2 separate regions of the Homo sapiens genome follow, and region 2 is linked to region 1. Evidence: promoter capture Hi-C in 16 types of primary human blood cells and fetal thymus (Javierre and others, 2016). All regions are on one chromosome and are shown on one strand. Each heading gives the region's core, a stretch centred on a gene start or on the middle of the fragment in contact. The rest is flanking DNA. Distances are from core to core; before and after follow the strand shown.

Region 1 (3,097 bases), core at 200-2,699:
GGCCTCTTTAAACCTTTATAGGGTAGCATGGCAAGGCTAACCATCCTCACTTTATATCTGACAAGCTGGGGCTCAGAGAGGACGTGCCTGAGCTGGGGCTCAGACAAGGACACACCTACTAGTAACCCCTCCAGCTGGTGATGGCAGGTCTAGGGTAGGACCAGTGACTGGCTCCTAATCGAGCACTCTATTTTCAGGGTTTGCATTCCAAAAGGGTCAGGTCCAAGAGGGACCTGGAGTGCCAAGTGGAGGTGTAGAGGCACGGCCAGTACCCATGGAGAATGGTGGATGTCCTTAGGGGTTAGCAAGTGCCGTGTGCTAAGGAGGGGGCTTTGGAGGTTGGGCAGGCCCTCTGTGGGGCTCCATTTTTGTGGGGGTGGGGGCTGGAGCATTATAGGGGGTGGGAAGTGATTGGGGCTGTCACCCTAGCCTTCCTTATCTGACGCCCACCCATGCCTCCTCAGGTACCCCCTGCCCCCCACAGCTCCTCTCCTGTGCCTTGTTTCCCAGCCATGCGTTCTCCTCTATAAATACCCGCTCTGGTATTTGGGGTTGGCAGCTGTTGCTGCCAGGGAGATGGTTGGGTTGACATGCGGCTCCTGACAAAACACAAACCCCTGGTGTGTGTGGGCGTGGGTGGTGTGAGTAGGGGGATGAATCAGGGAGGGGGCGGGGGACCCAGGGGGCAGGAGCCACACAAAGTCTGTGCGGGGGTGGGAGCGCACATAGCAATTGGAAACTGAAAGCTTATCAGACCCTTTCTGGAAATCAGCCCACTGTTTATAAACTTGAGGCCCCACCCTCGACAGTACCGGGGAGGAAGAGGGCCTGCACTAGTCCAGAGGGAAACTGAGGCTCAGGGCTAGCTCGCCCATAGACATACATGGCAGGCAGGCTTTGGCCAGGATCCCTCCGCCTGCCAGGCGTCTCCCTGCCCTCCCTTCCTGCCTAGAGACCCCCACCCTCAAGCCTGGCTGGTCTTTGCCTGAGACCCAAACCTCTTCGACTTCAAGAGAATATTTAGGAACAAGGTGGTTTAGGGCCTTTCCTGGGAACAGGCCTTGACCCTTTAAGAAATGACCCAAAGTCTCTCCTTGACCAAAAAGGGGACCCTCAAACTAAAGGGAAGCCTCTCTTCTGCTGTCTCCCCTGACCCCACTCCCCCCCACCCCAGGACGAGGAGATAACCAGGGCTGAAAGAGGCCCGCCTGGGGGCTGCAGACATGCTTGCTGCCTGCCCTGGCGAAGGATTGGCAGGCTTGCCCGTCACAGGACCCCCGCTGGCTGACTCAGGGGCGCAGGCCTCTTGCGGGGGAGCTGGCCTCCCCGCCCCCACGGCCACGGGCCGCCCTTTCCTGGCAGGACAGCGGGATCTTGCAGCTGTCAGGGGAGGGGAGGCGGGGGCTGATGTCAGGAGGGATACAAATAGTGCCGACGGCTGGGGGCCCTGTCTCCCCTCGCCGCATCCACTCTCCGGCCGGCCGCCTGCCCGCCGCCTCCTCCGTGCGCCCGCCAGCCTCGCCCGCGCCGTCACCATGAGCCAGGCCTACTCGTCCAGCCAGCGCGTGTCCTCCTACCGCCGCACCTTCGGCGGGGCCCCGGGCTTCCCACTCGGCTCCCCGCTGAGTTCGCCCGTGTTCCCGCGGGCGGGTTTCGGCTCTAAGGGCTCCTCCAGCTCGGTGACGTCCCGCGTGTACCAGGTGTCGCGCACGTCGGGCGGGGCCGGGGGCCTGGGGTCGCTGCGGGCCAGCCGGCTGGGGACCACCCGCACGCCCTCCTCCTACGGCGCAGGCGAGCTGCTGGACTTCTCACTGGCCGACGCGGTGAACCAGGAGTTTCTGACCACGCGCACCAACGAGAAGGTGGAGCTGCAGGAGCTCAATGACCGCTTCGCCAACTACATCGAGAAGGTGCGCTTCCTGGAGCAGCAGAACGCGGCGCTCGCCGCCGAAGTGAACCGGCTCAAGGGCCGCGAGCCGACGCGAGTGGCCGAGCTCTACGAGGAGGAGCTGCGGGAGCTGCGGCGCCAGGTGGAGGTGCTCACTAACCAGCGCGCGCGCGTCGACGTCGAGCGCGACAACCTGCTCGACGACCTGCAGCGGCTCAAGGCCAAGTGAGGGCCCGGCACCCCAGACTCCTCTTTCTGCGGGCAGGGCACAGGAGGCTAGGCCTGGGGTCTGGGGTCCCGCTGTCAGCACCTGCCTTCTCCCGGGGCCCGGGACCCTCTCCTGCCCCATGTGGAGAAAGGGTCCTCCACCTGTGTGTTTCAAGGGGCCGTGACCTCCAGGTCTCTCCCCCTGCGATCCCATCTTGCACAGGAGTTTTCTTGGGGACATAGATCAGGGGGTGGATATGGGAGAATTTAGGGGACCCGGTGCCCTGTGGACAGCCCCGTTAAAAAGCATTTTAAGATGCTGGGGCGATATTTATGGGGTCAGGTAGTTGATGGGCAGAGGAAGGGCTGCAGGAGGCCCAGAGGGCAGTGTAGCCAGAGGGAGAAGGGAGGCTGATAGGAGACAGGGAAAGCAGGGCAAGGGCCCAGAGTCCAAGCAACAGCTCTCAGCTCAGCTGTGATGAGGCCCTGGGGGAGGTGGGGGGAGGGGGGAGCTTGGCCCTGGGGCCTTGCCGAGACTGTGTCTTTTTACAAGGTGAATGGACAGGCTGGAGAAAAAGGGAGTAGGTGGGGGTCACAGCTCTCAGAGAGCTTGGGAGGACCTGACTGTAGACTTCACCAGGCTCCAAGAACGAAAAGGGCAGCAAGTGTAGCATATTTGTTGGTCCCACTTCTGACAGGCCAAGTGAGCACAGTCACCCTCCTGCCACCAAAGTCATAAATATTAATTGAGCAGCTATATTGGCCAGGCTGGAGCTGGGAACCAGAAACACAGAGGTGGATAAAATAGACACAGTTTCTAACCCCAGGGAGGTCACACAGTCTGGTGGGGACATAGACTTCAAGGGTGTGGCTCCTGGGCAGAGATTGGGCCACTTCCTGTGCCCTCCCTGGGTGGGTGGGGCCTCTCCACTCCCTGTCTCTCCTGCCTCTACCCAGCAGCCAGGCCCTCCCGCTCTGTCCTGGACCCACCCCCTGGTCAGC
Region 2 (3,097 bases), core at 190-2,689, 260 kb after region 1:
GATTTTAGTAAGCAAAAAACTGTAATAAAAGATACAACTGTGACCAGGGCCTTGAGCAAGCAGGGCAGTGACTATTCTTAGGCTGACCTAATAGCCGTTCCCTATCTCCTTCTTATTTTCCTTGTCTACTCTAGGGGACTTAAATCCTCATTTCCTGCCCTCTGTTGCAACTAGTCAGTGATGATGTGGTTTGGGGTCATGAATTTTAAGTGGAAGTCTGCTAGTGGGTTCCAGGAAAACTTCTGTTCTCCGGATTAAAAAGGAGGAAGCAACTGGTCCTCCTACTTCTCCTTTATTCTTGCCTGGAAAGCAAATATGATGCCTGGATGTGTGGCAGCCATCTTGCAACCGTGAGGCTGAGAAACGGGTTCACCAATAACCAGTCACAAGAGAGGACCCCCAGTGCTTGGAGGACGGCAAAGACTATCACTATGCCAACCACCATGACTAGGATTCTGAACACTTCTGCCCATTGCATTGCGGGCTGTAGTTTTACCAATTGCCTGAGTCCCGTGAGATAGAACAGACTCACATGCAACAAGTTACAGGAAATGGATTTATTACTCAGCAATAGTCAGCAAGGGACAAAGAAGACTGGGAGCCACTGTGAGCCAGTCCCCTAAGGAGTGTGAATGTGTTCAAGAAAGCTGCCCAGGGTGGATGGAGTTTCCACTGCTTGTGCCCTACTTTCATGGCAGCTGAGGGCCCCTAAAAGATAGCTCATTTCCAGTTAAAAGCCTCAGGGGCTCCATGACTCACCGAGCAAAGCTCGGAAGGACATCCTACTTCCAGGGAAGAGAGGAACAAAGTGTGGGCTGTCCTGAACAGTTCCCTCTAACTCAAGATCTTACATTCCCCAGGAGAAACAGGAAAAGAGCCAAGCTCTTTCAGGCAGTCCTATCTCAGGATGTTGCATTCCAGCACATTCTAAAGTTATCCTGAGAACTACATGCAGAAAGGAAGGGGCTAGGAACTGGGTCTTCCAAGTCCATCTGGGGACTGTACCAGATAAAGGCCACTGTGGAGATGCTGTCCCTGATATTGTCAGGCCCCCAAAGCAAAGTTGGCAGCTGCCTTCCATGAGACGACCTCTTATGTGAGGAAAAGAAATCCCTATTTATCTAAGCTTCTGTAGTTTTGTGTGCCCTGAGGCTCAATGTAATCCTGATACAGACACGGAAAAGTACAGATTAAGTGTCAGGGGGCTGTCCAGGTGGGACAGGGGAGTTGGCACAGGAGAGGTAAGGAAAGACTTCATGGGGGAGGTCGTGGCATTTGAGTGGAGACTTAAAAGACTTCAGGGTTAAATATGTAGAGATGGGAGGAGAGTAAGCCATGGCGTGGGCAGAGGCTGATGTGGGAAGCAAGAACCGCTGGGGAAAAGAGGTGAGCAGGTTGCAGAAATGAAACCCAAGCCTGAGTGAACAACAAATACTCGTGTGATTGGGAAGCCCAAGGCTGGACTCACTTCAGACATGTTTGTATCCAAGAACATACATTTTATCGTTGGGAGTTTGTTGCCTTTTCAGCTCTTCTTTCTGCCTTTGTCCTTGAAGAGCTGCCTTTGAGCAGCAGATAGGATGACCAGTAGTCGTGTCAGACCCACATTCTTCCAGCTTAGGAACGTGTGTGGAACGAGAAGGTTGGACTTCTTTTTTGTTTGTTTTTAATGCATCAAACGCATTCACATTTATTTTCGTTTTTTAAAGCAAATAATAAAGACCCAGTTTACTGGCTTTACTTTTTTAAACCTAAGCTTAACATGACATACATAAACAATTGTCAAAACGAAGTCATCAGCATTCATGCACAATTGAAAAACATCCTTAATGTGTATTAAATCAGAAAGTATTACCATTAAAGCATGAATATCTTTCACTACTAAATACCGAATAAAATCGAAATGATTTCTGTAAGAGATTCATCCTGGCAATGTTAATGTCATAGCAGGCTGATACTACTTGACTCACATTTCAGACACAACGGAAAAGCAGGTCCATGCTGGTATCAGTGTATGATCTTGTCCTACCACTAAAGAGTCAAGGCTCACCTTGGAGTAAGTTTAATAAAAAAGCAAAGTGCAAACAGAGATTTACAACAATTTTAAAGACCAAAAAAAAATGGTCTCTGTTATGGTTTGGCTCTGTGTCCCCACCGAAATCTCATCTTTTAGCTCCCATAATTCCCACATGTTGTGGGAGGGACCTGCTGGGAGATGATTGAATCATGAGGGCAGGTCTTTCCTGTGCTGTTCTTGTGATAGTGAATGGAACTCATGAGATCTGATGGTTTTAAAAACAGGGGTCTCCCTGCACAAGCTCTCTCTCTCTTTGCCTACCTTCCATGTAAGATGTGACTTGCTCCTCCTTGACTTCCACCATGATTGTGAGGCTTCCTCAGCCACATGGAACTGTAAGTCCAATTAAACCTCTTTTTTTTCTTTCTTTTGTAAATTGCCCAGTCTCAGGTAAGTCTTTATCAGTAGCATGAAAACGGACTAATACAGTCTCAAATAAACTCAAAAGTCTATGACAAATAGGGGCTCTGATGAGCTGTTTTTAAATACTTTAGATTAGGTGCAACTATACTGAAAGGCAAGTTTGTTTGAAATCGTCAAAAAATTGTTCCTGTTAATCTTCAAATGGTGCTTGTTGTAGTTGAACATTTCTGTTAAATGTGTGCATTGAATTGCTTGTTATCCAAGCTCAGCTGCTGCCTGCCCCTCACCATGTATTGTTAAAGACTTTATTTAACTGGCCATCATTTAACTGGCTGTCATCTTCAACTTCTACTCTTTCTTGACAATTCTCTTTGTTGTGGTTTTTCTGCTGTTAACCATTTTAGTAGAAGTTGATATCAATTTGAAGTTGCCCATCCCACTACCACCAAATGACATGGAAGAGAATGAAGTGAGGCCCCTGTGACCTAGTGACCTGATTGAAATAAATCCTGTATCAAAAGAAGAAAATCCACTTCCAAAAGATGGAAATCCAGTGAAGGCAGAGAAAAATGACCACATCCCTCGGCCTCTGCTTCCTCGGGGATCCCCTCCAATTCCCAAAAAAGTCCTCAAATGAATCTTCAAAGGAGTTGAATG

The links. Contacts are between HindIII fragments. The CHiCAGO score rates a contact against its expected background, and 5 or more counts as called.
Region 2: a fragment that was not itself captured here is called in contact with the fragment with the promoter of DES in region 1 in 3 of 17 cell types (M2 macrophages, M0 macrophages and erythroblasts); the score reaches 6.6 in M2 macrophages.

What each region holds. Positions count from the first base shown.
Region 1 is chr2:219,416,928-219,420,024 of GRCh38, forward strand. DES (desmin) reads left to right here and starts at 1,450. Exons shown (of 9, transcript NM_001927.4): 1 at 1,450-2,113. The coding sequence starts at 1,536. RefSeq lists cis regulatory regions at 469-1,525, 542-548, enhancers at 469-744, 469-587, 588-744, a silencer at 745-1,220 and a promoter at 1,221-1,525. The HindIII fragment of the contact is 3,605 bases long and covers 745-3,097 here.
Region 2 is chr2:219,681,342-219,684,438 of GRCh38, forward strand. It overlaps the pseudogene DNAJB6P3. Among named protein-coding and RNA genes, the nearest start is that of LINC02832, 47 kb to the right of the region's middle. RefSeq lists enhancers at 2,670-3,097, 3,006-3,097. The HindIII fragment of the contact is 630 bases long and covers 1,125-1,754 here.